Linked DNA regions of Homo sapiens: all the other regions are linked to region 1. Evidence: promoter capture Hi-C in 16 types of primary human blood cells and fetal thymus (Javierre and others, 2016). All regions are on one chromosome and are shown on one strand. Each heading gives the region's core, a stretch centred on a gene start or on the middle of the fragment in contact. The rest is flanking DNA. Distances are from core to core; before and after follow the strand shown.

Evidence for each region. The method cuts DNA at HindIII sites, captures the fragments that hold promoters and counts their contacts. A CHiCAGO score of 5 or more calls a contact.
Region 2: a contact is called between the fragment with the promoter of TRMT10A here and the fragment with the promoter of BDH2 in region 1, in 1 of 17 cell types (non-activated CD4 T cells). The highest score is 5.2, in non-activated CD4 T cells.
Region 3: a contact is called between a fragment that was not itself captured here and the fragment with the promoter of BDH2 in region 1, in 3 of 17 cell types (non-activated CD4 T cells, naive CD8 T cells and total CD4 T cells). The highest score is 9.7, in non-activated CD4 T cells.

Annotation. Positions count from the first base shown.
Region 1 is chr4:103,097,374-103,102,457 of GRCh38, reverse strand. BDH2 (3-hydroxybutyrate dehydrogenase 2) reads left to right here and starts at 2,624. Exons shown (of 10, transcript NM_020139.4): 1 at 2,624-2,675. The HindIII fragment of the contact is 3,413 bases long and covers 95-3,507 here.
Region 2 is chr4:99,561,197-99,566,280 of GRCh38, reverse strand. TRMT10A (tRNA methyltransferase 10A) reads left to right here and starts at 2,242. Exons shown (of 8, transcript NM_001134665.3): 1 at 2,242-2,368. It also overlaps a transcript of MTTP not described here. RefSeq lists enhancers at 2,164-2,223, 2,574-2,703, 1,939-3,138. The HindIII fragment of the contact is 8,482 bases long and covers 1-5,084 here.
Region 3 is chr4:100,094,255-100,099,338 of GRCh38, reverse strand. No RefSeq gene overlaps it. Among named protein-coding and RNA genes, the nearest start is that of DDIT4L-AS1, 93 kb to the left of the region's middle. The HindIII fragment of the contact is 4,881 bases long and covers 146-5,026 here.

The sequences.
Region 1 (5,084 bases), core at 1,375-3,874:
CTATGTTCAGTGAATTAGGTATATTAAATACATTTTCAACTGACAATGTTTTCAATTTACAATGGGCTTATTGGGATGTAACCCCACTGAAGCTTGAGGAAAAAAAAAAAAATATATATATATATATATGCAGAGAGAGAGAGAGAGGATGTTTATTAGGGGAATTGGTTTACACAATTAGGGAGGCTGAGAAGTCCCACCATAGGCTGTCTGCAAGCTGGAGAGCCAGGGAAACTAGGAGCGTGGCTCAGTCCAAGTCTGAAGGCCTGAGAATCTGGTCGGAGTTCAGGTATCCAAGGGCAGGAGAAGATGGATGTCCCAGTTCCGGAAGAGAGAGAATTCACCTTTTCTCTGCCTTTTTGTTTTATCTGGGCCCTCAGCCAATTGGATAGTGCCTGCCCACATTGGGTGAAGTAGATCCTTACCCAGTTCACTGATTCCAATGCCGATCTCTTCCAGAAACACTCAGAGATGTCCCAGAAATAATGCTTACCAGCTCTCTGGGGATCCGTAAATCCAGTCAAGTTGACACCTAAAATTAATTATCACAAACATTGTCTTGAGAGCCTGGCAGAATTATATTCAGGAAACTTATTAAGAAACTGCCATTCACTCAGCAAATATTTAATGAGCATCTACTATCTGCCAATTACTGTTTTAGGCACTGAAAGGCACTACCAATGTGGAACTCATATTGTAGATAAGAAAACAAGTAACTAATACTCTTTTAATACGAGCTAATCACAATGTAAAGGTGTAAAACATAGTCCCCACCCTTGAAGAAATTTAGTCTGCTGAGAATACTAATGGGTAAGCAAGTATTTGCAATACCATGTGACTTAGGCTGTTATCAAGTAAGCATTGTTGCTGAAGATTACAGAGGGATGCTGAAGAAAGCTACATCAAGAAGCATTGGAGTTGGCTTTGATTAGAGAACTCTCATAAAGTCTGTTCCAAAAGCCTCAAAAGTCAAAGGGCATTATTAGTAAAGCAGGAACAAAGCTAGATGTGATTACAGATTGTTAGAGCCAGCATTAGAAGTTGCTGAAACAATGAACAAGGAGGGACAATTTTACCATAGACCTCATATAGACACATGCAGAAACTAAGTCCAGTTTTTAAAAGAACATTAAAAAGCGCAACTTTTACCATCCATTATAATTAAATTTCTCCAACAATGTCTTCATCATAAGAATCACTAACATGTATTAAGCACCTGTGTGGCAAACATTGTGCTGATGGATTCACAGGCTTAGTCGTTCCTCCTCACCACATCCCTGAGGTAGGTGCTATTTTACCTTCATTTTACAGATGAGAAACATAAGAGGTTCAGAGATTTAAGTGATTTACTCACTTAGCTAGTGAGAGAGAGATATGGGACTTGCTCTAGTCTTACTGACGCCACAGTCTTTGTTCTTATCCCCTGTGACTGTTAGAAATCACTTAGCTCCATGTAACAAAAAACGTGAAAAACACTAAAGTTTATTGTCCTCACATAAGAAGTCCAGAGGAGTTGTTGCCTTGAGGCTGTCATCAGGGCCGCAGGCTCCTTCTCTTGCTGGTCCCTGTCGTTAATGTGTGCCTCTGGCCTCAGATGAACTCACTAAATGGCTGCTCTGTCCCACGGCATCCTATCTTCATTCCAGGCAAAAAGAAAGGGAGGAGCAAAAGCTAAAAGCCTTTCAGAAGGGCTTACTTTTCTATTTAAGAAGGAGGCCCTCCTCAGAAATTCCCACCTGCATTTCATTGGCAACATCTATGCTGCTTGGCCACCCCTAGCAGCAAACAAGGCTATGAAGTAGAGACTTTTGTTTTCCAGCTTTGACAAGTGAAAAAAGGGGAAAGTGAGTTGGATGGGTGCTGAGGAAACCAATTTATACAGTACATGTACAAGTAGCCTACACAATCACTCTGCTCACTGGCACTACAGATAAAGCACATGTTGCTATCCTAACCTAGAGGGCTCATGAGATCTAGTCCTTTCTTTTTGACCTTATATCTCTGTTCTCTTCAGCCAAACTGGGGTTTTTCGCTGTTAACATGTTCCCTTTTAAGCCTCCACCCTGTCATCCAAGTTTCACGTTCTCCCCAACCCCATTCCCAGTGTAGTAAAAGGCTCCTGGCATTCTGCCACTAAATGTGCATTAGTGTTAGAATATTCTGAGCATGAAAAAATAAAAATCACAACTGTATCTCAAACAAAAAGGATTTTTTTTTTTATTTCTCTCCCTTAAAACAATCCAGGCCAAGTGACAGGAAGGCTCCAGAATTTTCAGTGACCTGGGTTCCCTCTATTTTGTTGCTCTGCTATCTTCCACACGCAGTTTCCAGCTCAGCCAATCTCGTCTACCCTGGCACCGCATATAGTAGGCATAAACAAAACAGAGAAGTGGAGAGACTGAAGTGAAGGAAATGATTTCCGCATCCTAAGTAAGCTCTAAGGTGCTTTTCCACTTTTCACCTTCCACTTGGAATTCATAGTTCTACCTGAATTCCACTAGATGGCAGCACATACATTTATAAAGTGTATGGATGGAGCCACTAAACTCTGAAAGCAGGGAAACTACAAATCCCAGCATGCATTATTAAGCGCTTGACTTGCTTCCAGACAAAGGTTGTCTCAAGTTTGTTGCTCAAACCGAGTTCTGGAGAACGCCATCAGCTCGCTGCTTAAAGTAAGATTTCCTAATACTTTTGAAATGAAACTTTAGAACGGAAAGAGGGGAGGTTTAATTTTTAGATGTTGTTTTTTTCTGCACGTTGCCTGTTTCAAAATTAATCTGAGCAGTTAGATCAGTGTAAAGATGGGTTTTTAAAGAGCCTGAAACTCTGTGGTATGTATGTTTTATAAAGTAGCCCAAGAAAAAAGGATTCTTACGGTATCCTAAGTGAAGAGTTTTCTTCCTGGCTCTTGAAAACAATGGCTTCCTGAATATGCTGTTTGTGTCTCTGCTAATCAAAAATCAACATTTTGATTCTAACTTTTGGACTAAGGAAGCCAACATGTATGGTTTTCACATTGGATATATTGAGAGGTGCCTTGTTTTACCATTTCAGGCCGTGTTTGCTCTCATTTTCTCAAAGAAATCTGTTTTAGTTTGAGATTACAGTTTATCAAATGTTAAGGCTTTGACCCCAAAATCTGGTCCCAGAAAGACAGGAAGGCCAGCTAAGAGGAGGTTTTCAGAGTGCATAGAAAGGCTGCTCTGTGCTTCGGCATTTGTTCTGGAAGTGCTTCTTCGGTTGGCAAAGATTCCTAGCAAAACCTTTGACTGGAGGCTTTACAGGGCCATACACCCAATATCACTAATGACAGTGTTGTAAAATAGCTTTTGTGCACCATGCTTAGGATTCAAGGAGGATAAAGTATATCTTTCTAAAGTTATACTTTAGAAACTGTCATTCCATGTTGAAATGATAAACATTCCATGTTTATCTTTTGTGTAAGAAGTAAAAAAGCAAAAATTCATTGCATCAAAGTAGGTCAGGCACTGTTAAAGCCAAGCTTCCCCATCGCCTAAAAAATGTGGACAAACTCAGAGGAAGTCAGTGATTATAAGCTGATCCCTGGAGCCAGTTCTTACATAATTGTGTTAGTCTGCTCCTCCAAGAAGCAGACTCCAAGATAGAATTAAATATGCATGGATTTTATTAGGGGAAATGCTGTTGTGAGAGAGAATGAGGAGAGAACTAGGTAAGGCTGTGAGAGCCATCAGACCTCGATGCAAGTCCACCCGCGAGGGAGGAAAAGAAGGAAACCAGGTTGAGTGGAAGCATCCCAGACAGCTGTGCAGTCTAAGAGAACTTCAGCAAGGTAATAAGGAGCTTCTCTAGCCAGTCATCCGTTGGGGAGGAGGTCTATGTCTCCCAGAAATGAGTCTGCCTTAGTAAGCATGCATGCTCAGGCACTGGCTTGTAACGGCCCCGAGAAGGTGGCCTCAGCACAAACCCAGAGAGGCAGCAGCAGCTGCGCCTCATTGTCCATTACTTCCTGGGGTCAGCGGTCTGCGAGGCACAGGCTCCTGGTGCCACAGTGGGGATTTAGAGAGGCCCGCAGGGCTTTGAGTACCATGAGACAATGCCATGAGATCTTCCCTTGGACCTGCAACAAGAAGGCCTAGGTTTGAATTCATAGCTGCAAAACACTGGGCAAATAACATTTCTTTGAAATTAGCCACGTTGGTGATCAGGTCCTACCTATCTCATCTCTGAAACACTTCTCCAATCCACCTATCTCTCCATCCCTGCTATTTTCTCCAGCCCTGCTATTTCACCAGCGCCCCCACTAGATAACCCTAGCAGCCTCCTAATGGCACCCCATGCTCCTGCCCAGGTATGTTCTCCACAGCAGTCCTTCCAAAATACGAATCTGATCATTTCACACCCTTTCCATAAATCCTTCAGTGGCTGTTGCCTATAGGAGTAACTTGCCCTTCACCATGTGGACCTTGGACCAAGTGTGGAGGTTTGAAATGGAAGAGCATATTGGGTATAAAAAAAAAAAAGTTTGGCTAAAGAGAGAACTGAAATAAGTTCAAAGAGAAAGGACTAGGTAATATAAGCCCTTTAGGCAAGGCTATCAACCTGTACAAAATCAGGCAGATAATGGAACAGAGTGATTGTGTAGGCTAGTTTGCATGTACTGTAAGTTGGTTCATCAACACCATCCAACTCACTTTCTCCTATTCTTCACTTTATCAAAGCTGGAAACAAAAGTCTCAACTTCCAACCTCTTTGCAGCTAGGAGTGGCCAAGTAGCATAGATCTGGTGAATGAACTGCAGGTGGGAATTTCTGAGAAGGTTTCCTTCTTAAATAGAAAGGTGAGACCTCTCTGAAAGCCTTTTGGCTTTTGCTCCTCCCTTTCTTTTTGCCTGAAATGTGGATATGATGCCTTGGACAAAGCAGCCACTTTGTGAGTTCGTATGAGGTCAGAGGCACACATTAATGACAGAGCCCAGCAAGACTTGGAGCCTGTGTCCTTGAAGACAGCCTCATTTGATGGTCATTTGGCTCTTCTCCACCCCCAGCCTCACTACTAGCTCTTTCTCTCACTTTGTGATCTATAATCCAAGCACTGGTGAA
Region 2 (5,084 bases), core at 993-3,492, 3.5 Mb after region 1:
GTATCACTCTGTCACCCAGGCTGGAGTGCAGTGGCAGGATCTCGCCTCACCGCAAGCTCCGCCTCCCGGGTTCACGCCATTCTCCTGCCTCAGCCTCCGGAGTAGACGGGACTACAGGCGCCCGCCACCACGCCCGGCTAAGTTTTTGTATTTTCAGCAGAGACGGGGTTTCACTGTTTTAGCCAGGGTGGTCTTGATCTCCTGACCTCGTGATCCGCCCGCCTAGGCCTCCCAAAGTGCTGGGATTACAGGCGTGAGCCACCACGCCCGGCCTCAAAACCTATTTTTCTTCCAGTATTCCCTAAATGACCCGGTTAATGTTACTGCATTCCTACAGTTGTCCAAGTTAGAGAAGCCCTTAGGGTTATTATCTCCTCCTTCTTCCTCATTCTATCCACAGCTTTTCAGTCATGTGCAAAACTATGACACGCTTAGGTCTTTGCTTTCACTGTTCCCAATATCTTAAACTTCTTCACTTTTCTGACACCTGTACAACTCCTACTTACTTTCCAAGATGAAACAAAATTATTTAATCTCCAAAACTATGTCCTCTGCCTCAAGGAGCATTTAGTTGCTTCTTTCAAAGTACAAGCATCTCAAGTACATGTTGTATGGTATTTATTTACTGCTGGCTCCCCTATTAGATTAAGGATTCCTTAAGCACAGAGAGCATGATTTCGTCATTTCTGTATCACCAATACTAAGACAAAACGCATAGAACTCGATACATGTGTCAAATAAATAAATACATAAATTTTACAAATCAATGAAAATATTGTTTCACATGATTTCACCGTCTTAAACTTTCTATATGTTTCAATTTTTTGTTAAATTGACTTTTGCTGGTGCTCTTTTGGTGCTTACTTTGGATTAATAATAGAATCATTTTAAATTTTGCACCAAATGACTACAAAGTTAAATGTCTATGTCAAAAGAAAATTTATTGACTTCATTATTAGAATATGAAGTGGTTTTTTTTGCTTTAAAACTTTGTTTAAAATATCTAAGGAGGCCAGGTATTAACTCTGAAAAAACTGTATAATTATTTATAAAACAGATCCCATAGGAGCAACTGAACAGCTGTGGAAAGATTTGGCACATCACTTTGCCAGCCTGAATTTAATGACCTACATGTGAAGGGCTACATATCCAATTACTAATCCTCCCTCAGCTACTCTTTGCCCTCATATGGAGGCAGCTGAAAAAAGATGCCCTACTAACAGATCAGAAGTGGATCCAGACTTTTTTGCCAGTGCTCAGTTAACAAAGATCTTTTAGGTTTGAGATGAGGAAGAAACAGAAGAGGGACTCACAACAGTGTTATAGCTGATACAGTGTTTCAAGTAAAATTTAAGGGCTTATGGCAAGAGTGACTTTAGTTTTGTAACTAAAGTCAAAGAAATTTCGGCTCTTTTAGAGAATCTCAAATTCTGGATTTAATTTTCTATTCACTGAAGCCTTTAAACATGTTCAAATATCTTCAAGGATAATTTACTTCAAAATTCTTTCTATATGAGAAGCCAGTCTTCTATTCAAGATGCAAACCTCATTCTTACCTTCAAATTCTGCAATAATCACCTATTAGAAGTAGAGGAGAAAAAAACTAAATAGAAAATGACAATCTACGGGGTTGTATTTCATTTCTCTCTCAGTTGACATGATCTATATATAGCAAAAGATTATATAAGGTCAAGTATTATAAACAATGAAATGTCATCTGATGTTTTGCAAAACAGCATAGGAAAAATAGCTCAAGGAATGAATAAAGAGTAAAGCTATGGCTGTTTTACTTCAGCCATAAAAAAGCCTTACAGATTCTAAATTTAAATGCATTTTATTGTGAATCTGACTCACTTTTTGAATTTAATTTTCCACTTGAGTTATGTAAAATCATGTGATATGGTAATTTTCTGTATAAATTAAAAATAATATAGGCAAGAGATGTTTTTCTCTCATTTTCAACACAGAAAAATTAGGAGCCTTTCTTCGTTGTTTTGCATTTTTAACAGTGGGACTATCTTAATTCCTTCATCCAATACTCACAAGAATATATGAATGAATACACGTCTGCAGGTACACACTTAATTCTTGAACGGGAAAAAACAGACATCACTGTAACTACCTCCCACTCCCAAAACACTAACTCCAGACCCCGCCCCGCATAAACCCCTCCCCTTTCTTCCATTGCGGGTTCGAAATGGCCGCAGTTCGATGACGTAAGACGCAACCGCCGTAGCCTCCACTGCGTAACTACCGCCCCTGCCTCTGGGAATTGAAGTTTCTGTGGAAGGAAGCGTGAGCCGTAACCAGGCCAACCCAGAAAGGCTTTCTTTCTGAGATTTCACTTCCCTGTCAACTCTTCAGCTCGGTAAGTGTCCTGGCACTGGTTGGCGCTCCCCCGCACTATGGTATTCTCTGGACGCAAAGGGGCGCGTGCCATGCAGCCCCCTACTAGCAACAAGGGCTTCCGGGGGAGAGGGGAGCAGTGGTGTGGAAGTGGTTTCCTGCGGCGCTCTTGCTGAAGGAAATGACGTCGATGACAGGCGCCCCCCGCGGCCTACCCAGCTGCTCCCTGGTTCGCCAGAGACAGCTTAATCCCGTCTCTGAAATGCGTTTGCTGGCTGGGAGCCTAGAAGGGATAGTGGGCGAGGCTCCGCCCCGTGGTGGGGCGCTTTCCGTCGGCGTGTGTTTTGGGGTTGCCATCGGCCCGTAGTATGTGAAAAGTGAGTTTGCAAAGAATCAGTGGGAAATCTGTACTCTAAAGGGCCGGAAAGCGTGTTATGGCCCTGCCACTTCGTGGCTAGAGACCGTGGGCTTTACCTCTTTAAAGCTGCCTTACCTCATTTTTCCTGCAAAGGGCTGACGTCGCTGAACTCTCTGAAATGTAGAGAGCCCGAGGGGAAGTTGCTGCAGGTGCTGTGAGCTGAGGACAGTTTTATAAAGATCGAAGTGTTACTTGATTTCACTGAAATACTTTAAATTTGGGAATTTTTCTACAGATATGAAGAGGATGGCAACACATTACTTGTCACTTTCTGAAAGAATTTCATCTGCCCCTTCCATTCCCAACCCTCTGCCCAAAAGGCTTGACAACTGAAGTGAACAAAGGGCTTTTCGCTCCTCCACGTTTAGTCCGCATGTCTTTTAAAAGGGCATTCCTGGCCGGGCGCGGTGACTCACGTCTGTAATCCCCGCACTTCGGGAGGGCAAGGCGGGTGGATCACCTGAGGTCAGGAGTTCGGGACCAGCCTGACCAACATGGTGAAACCCCGTCTCTACTGAAAATACAAAATTAGCCGGGCGTGGTGGCGCATGCCAGTAATCCCAGCTACTGGGGGGGCTGAGGCAGGAGAACTACTTGAACCCAGAAGGCGGAGGTTGCAATCAGCCGAGATTGCGCCATTGCACTCCAGCCTGGGCAACAAGAGCGAAACTCCGTCTCAAACAAACAAGAAAGGCCGGGCGCAGTGGCTCATGCCTGTAATCCCAGCACTTTGGGAAGCCGAGGCGGGTGGATCACGAGGTCAAGAGATGGAGACCATCCAGGCCAACGTGGTGAAACCCCGTCTCTACTAAAAATAACAAAAATTAGCTGGGCGTGGTAGCGCGCACCTGTAGTCCCAGCTACTCGGGAGGCTGAGGCAGGAGAATCGCTTGAACCCGGGAGGCAGAGGTTGCAGTGAGCCGAGATTGCGCCACTGCACTCCAGCCTGGGCGACCTAGCAAGACTCCCTCTCAAAAAAAAAAAAAAAAAAAAAAAAAAAAGGCATTCCTTTGCTATCGCTGTCAAGTCATTAATTCCAATCTGCATTATTCCCACATTCGTTGAGATTTTTCTGAAAAGGAGACTGTCATAAATTAACGACGATTATTTATTTTATCCCAATCCATAACTTAATGCAGTTTTAAAAAACTTTTTTTTTTCTTTTGGTGCTCATTGATGTAGGATGTGTCCTTGCCTTACAAAGTGAGATAGTTTGTAAGCCCACTTAATAACCTATGTCTGCGAATGAACCCCACAAATTTTTAAAATTTTATGCAGGAGTAAAATTTCACACACACACACACACACACACACATATATATATATATAATTTTTTTTTTTTTTTGGAGACGGAGTCTTACTCTGTTGCCCTAGTTGGAGTGCAGTGCTGCGATCATGGCACACTGCAACCTCTGCCTCCCGGGTTCAAGCGATTCTTCTGCCTCAGCCTCCCGAGTAGCTGGAATTACAGGCGTCCACTACCACGCCTGGCTAATTTTTGTATTTTTAGTAGAGACGAGGTATCGCCATGTTGGTCTTGAACTCCTGACCTCAGGTGATCCGCCCACCTCAGCCTCCCAAAGTGTTGGGATTACAGGCATGAGCCACTGCGCCCGACCTCACACAAATATTTTTATAGTTACTGTAAAATACGTTCTTGAACATTTGTTGAACTTGGTTGAATGAATGAAAATGTACTGTGAGCATCACTGCATGTGAGAAAGGAATGAAAAACTCTGCCATGGAATTTTATAAATTATTGCCCAAACTAAAACAATTAGAAAGCAAGTATACCTAATAAAATGCTGTTTTGCTTAACAGGTAATCTGAACACGCTAGTACATAGTGCAGTGTAGATATACATTATACTTATTGTATAGTGTAGACAGTGCGAGTTGGTAGATATCTTTGTAAAGTATACTATACGGAATAATTTATAAGATATCAGGTTAGCATCATTTTTGTTGCATTCCATTTGTCTCAGTGCACCTGGCTTATTTAAAGCCTAAAAACTTCACTTAGTACAGTCGTTTTCTTAGTTAGGAATAGTTTTTAAAAAGATGATGATGATGATGATGAAGATGTTGACCATCTCATGACCTTTCCTTGTGTTTGAGAGATTGAAACATTAATGTACTATGACAGGTCATATTAAATTTAACTTAAGACTTCTTAGATAGGAAAGGCATATGCTCCCCCTGGTGTACATGACCTGTAAAACATTACATTGCTCTTTAAAAAGTCTTCACGTAGGCCGGGCCTGGTGATTCACGCCTGTAATCCCAGCACTTCAGGAGGCCGAGGCAGGCGGATCACGATG
Region 3 (5,084 bases), core at 1,337-3,836, 3.0 Mb after region 1:
CTTGGACTAGTATGATCATGAGTTGTCTTTGGGCCTTCTGGACCTGGCAGGTGTTTAAAGAAAACTATCTTGTGGGGGCTCTCCTGGGCTTTTCAGAGATTTGTATCATTGGGGCCCTCTGTCCTGCAGTTATTCTAACTAAGCTTGTGAGTCTCTCTTTTGGGTTATTATTTAATTTTCCTTCACCAACCCTTGAGAACCTCAGAACTTGGTTTCTTGCTGCTGGGGTCTCTTTGGCTCTCTGGATGCTCATACTGGTCACAACTAAAAACTTCTCTCTCTCTCTCAATGCCCATGGTCCATGAAAAACTCTAGCACTACCTTTTCTTTGATAAACCTTGGGAATGCAGGCTAATACCTCAGCAACAGAAACTCGCCTGGCTATGCCACCAAAGAAAGCAGTTAGCCAGTCCATCTCTGTCCACTCAACTCCCAGAGGCAGGGGGCACAGGCAGAGCTCTCTGAGTCATCCACTTGAAATCTCTTTTTCAAGTCTTGAAGTTAAGCTATAATCCCCATATATCCTCCCTTTCAGAGATTAGCAAAGAGATAGGGCTCAGAACACAGCTTTCTCCAAAGATTCCTGCTTCAATTAATTGCTATGTTATTTGGTGACAGATAAATGACGATGCTTTTTTTTTAAGCAAGGGGATAGCCAAATTGATTATCAGGTGATTATCTCTGATTGGGCCACAGGTTTAGCTTCAATAGTTTTGTAAATATTCTAGTTCTCACTTGGGGAGTTCACATAAGTCTTGTTTTATTATCATGCATTGTAACCTACATTTTTTTCTCTTTTAATCATTACATGATAAAAAGGAATTTTAAGTAGATAAGTAAGTAAGTTAACCAATATGTACAAACCAACCTAACACTTAATGATGCAAACAGTGATTAATTATTGCTTGGATTGTGTCTGCTCTGTGTGGTGCACTCAGCAGGTGGAGGGGCTGAGCATGTCTCCAGTTGTGGTGCTGGCTCTTAGCTGGGGCATTTTGGTTCTCCCTCACACGCCGTCTCTTTCTCCGTGATTTCCCATCTTCAAGAGCTTTTCCTCATGACCTTCCTCTTCAGCAGGATGGCCTAGATTTCCTTACGGCATCGAGGACGAGATCCAAGACAGCAAAAGCAGACTCTGCCAAGCCTCTTAATGGCAAGGCCCTGAAGCAGCAGAGCTTCACTTCTGCCACCTCCTATTGGTTAAAGCCTGTCACAAAGCCTGTCGAGATTCAGAAAAAGAGAGATAGAACCCACCTCCTGATAGAAAAAAGCTGCACATGCATAAAGAAAGGAGAGGATTTGACAGCTATCTTTGAAGAGTATCTGCCCCATTAAGCCATGGGATATTTTCCCCATAAAAGAAAGGACTATGATCTGGATTGTAGAAACTGATCTATAGACATGAATCTGAACTTAAGAGAATTTGACTAATTCCATCTGTTCAAACTGTCATCACTCACACATATTTCTGTAAGTATTCACTCTCACATGTTAGCATCAATAAAGATTTCATGAAAAATAAAGAGTCTTAATTCAGAGAGGATGAAACATGCAAAAACAGTTGTGCCATCAAATTATTTGTACCTAGCAAACTAAACATCCTCCAACAAAATAAATATTTGTAAGGAGGAATGCTTGACTACAAAACTATTTACAAATATGAAAATTAAACAAGAGTTAATTCTAACCGATGTCAACTTAAGAAAGTGAAAACGTCTTCTGCCCTGGCTTTTCCATTTTACTACCCTGTAACTATTAATGGAATCACTCTATCCCCATCAGGGAAGCTCAGATTCTCTAAAGGTAGTAATGATTCTTCCTTTCTTCCCCTTATCAATTATTCCTTCATTGTATGTCTCACATTCACCCCTCCTCTTCAGCTCCTTATCCACAATATAGCTCAGATTTTCACAGCATTAAAATAAAGGGACTATAGTTTCCTCCTATCTCTGAGTTCATGCCCACTCCGAGCCCAGTACACCTGAACAATGGTATTCCAAAAATACGTCTCATCTTCCCATGTTCCCACTCAAAAACTTCAGTGGCTCTTCACTCTCTCCACCGCCCTGGTCAGGGCTGGGAGGATGGTTTTCACATGCCATGAAGGGATTTTTTTTTTCTTTCTTTTCTTTTTTTTTTTTTTTTTTTCAAAAACTAGATGCCTCTCATTGGAACTTTTTACTAGATGGCTGCCTGTGCCTGCTCTTCTCCCCTCCCCACAAAACACACTCACATGCACTCAAGAAAAGAGGATAATAATCACTGGTCAGAGTGTATCACATCCCCAGGCGCTGGCCTAGGAAAAAAAAAAGTTTAAGAACTACTGGACTATAAAAGAATGTCCAAATTCCTTGTCAGGTACTTGAACTCATATCCAATCTATTTATCTTCTTTATATTTGTTTCCACCAAGCCTGACTGAAAACCTTTTACTACTAGAAACAGGATAAAATCAGTTAGGGAACTCGGTCCCCACTATTGCCAAGTTTACAGCATAATGGGAGAGAAAAACACAACATATTCAGAACATGAAGGTAGAAAGCCAAGGTGCCAAAGGCAGCGAGGGAATGCAGGCTCATGGTTCCAGAGCAAAAAGGAGAGCTCTGGCCTCCTCAGTCATCCTGGATTAAGAAGAAGAGTTTCTCTGCTTGGGTGTCATATAATAACTTCCTCTCTATGAAAATGTTGTACAAGCAACTGTTTATTCTCTTATTCCTAGTCTCACCTCATGCCAAACAAGGGTGTGGGCAAAACAGCAGGCTCAGGATCCAAGACAACATAACAATTTTCTGACAGATCCTGAAAACAAGTAAGATATATTCTGGTAGATTTTGCTAACCACCCAAAGTGTCTAAAGTGGGAAAGAAAACAAAATAAAACAAAAAAAAAGGAGAGACTGTGGGTATGTGTCATTCATTCATATTTTGTAAGTTGCCCTACTGTTTGTTTTGTCAGCTATTTTTAATAATAATAAGCAAAACAGAAAAACAGAGTCACAAATAGAAGATGCATATTTAGGGTCTCTAGCTAAGCAACAGGAGATGACAAAGTAAGAAACAAGGTCAGATTCTCCTGAAACCCAGAAAGGGTTGACTCATACAAGGGCCTCATTGTGTACCTCTCTGACTTCCACCAGAGGGAGCGTGTTCTGTGCGAGCGAGCACGTCTGCGTTTGCTAATTATCCTCACAGGACAGCGGGGACTGGAAGGTGGAAAGAACACAGGCAAAGCTGGCTTTGATCCTGGTTTCATCACTTTCTTGCAACATAAACCTCAGTTTCCTCAGTCAACTTTCTTTCCTCTGTGAAAATTAAAAGATAAAACTTTCCTTGCAGATAATTTGGTGAAAATTAAGAGATGATAAGCGTGAAGAGACTGGCTCACAGTGGACACTCAATAACTTGCAGCTACTATTAATATTACTTTTGTTAACCCTAAGCCAAGGCCACCACTCTTTAACCCATAACCATATGCCCCAGTGAAAAAGCACAGTGAGACCACCAGTGTTAGCAAATCTTCCCAACAACTCAAGAAACCATCAAAACTCATGAGCTGTAGGAGGGTAGGCAAATACTAACTTCTTTAAGTTTTTTCCTCATACACATCAGGATAATAACATCAAACTTCTAAGGATTCAAGAGAAATTATTTTAGATTTCAGTTCGGGTTAGAACCTGGCACATAAGAAGGCTCAATAAATGGTAAATGTTGTTATTACCATTCCTCTTTTTCAAATTTTAAAAGTGAGAATAGATTGACATTGTTCTTTTCAAGAGGCTGAATTTTCAGACATCTTCTCTACCAAATGATGTCACCCCCTGTCTCCCATGAGCACAGATGAAATTAAGACCCCACCTTTGAATGTTCCTTTTCAGATCTTCTTTTTCCTTTCCTTACTTTGTTTTCCTTTGAAAGTGGCCATTGATGTTTTTAAAAAGGGTTCTACTAGTTTATCCGTTGTATCTATTTTAAGGCACTGTTGGGTGGGGAGATGGTAACGTGAGCACAAATAAATTACATCATTATCATTTTCTCCTACGTTGACCATGGTTAAGGTTTTAGTCATGCGCAAGTGACTTAAAATTACATAATATGTATTTTGGCAATCCATCCTTGCTGTAGTTCAGCTCCCTGAATTTCAGAAGAAATGGGCCACTTAATAAGCCTCATCCAAGGGACTTCAGAGTCATTTCACCTTCATAAATCCTTGGAATTTCTACATGATAAAACTAGATTATGCAGAAGGTGTAATACATGAGGATGAGGCATATTTCCAGCAAATACGTAAGCACTGGGAGACTAATAATAGCCAAACACCTTACTCTACTAACAATTAGGAGGAATATAAGAAGAGGGTGCTTTGGTGTTTGAAGCGTCTAAGCCTTGGTTTCTTATTTTACACTTTCGTTTGGAGGGCAGATTGTTTTGAGTCAACATAAAGTGACTTCAGCTGAAGGGAGACTGGGATGTTCACAGTGGGCCTATAAACATTTTTAAAAACATCATTCAACGTTGATTCTGCCTTCACGGAGAGCCTACACTACACCAGGCACTGGGTTGGGCACTGTGACAGGGCTGATTCAAATAAACCCTTATGATATTTCCCTGTTGCTAAACTTCCAGAGTATTGACTGGCAATTTTTGGCCAACCTTCAAGCCTGATACATTCTTCTTTATTTGTCAATCTACCCTTTTGGTAATGTGGTAAAGAATCAAGTGTTTCTCTTCAGCAGCAATTCATCAGATAATTGCTCACTTTATTTAGTTGATGTGGACACAGCCAATCTATGTCATTCTGGTCAAAATAATACATTTGCCCTAACATTAGTGTTTTTTGTTTGTTTGTTTGTTTTTACTCTGAATTAAGCACATGAGGCCCTCAACAGAACCTGCATTAGACATAGCACCTGGTGGACAAAATATCCCTAATAAGCATTTGCTTGATTACATTCAGGCTTTAATTTTATTATCTAGAAAAGTGCTATTTCACCTTTATAGGTTTGGATTTGGTTATGTACTTTAAAAGCTTCAGGTAAAACAATGAGTAGATTCCTTTGTGAGAGCCCTCACAGTAAAACCAGAAGGC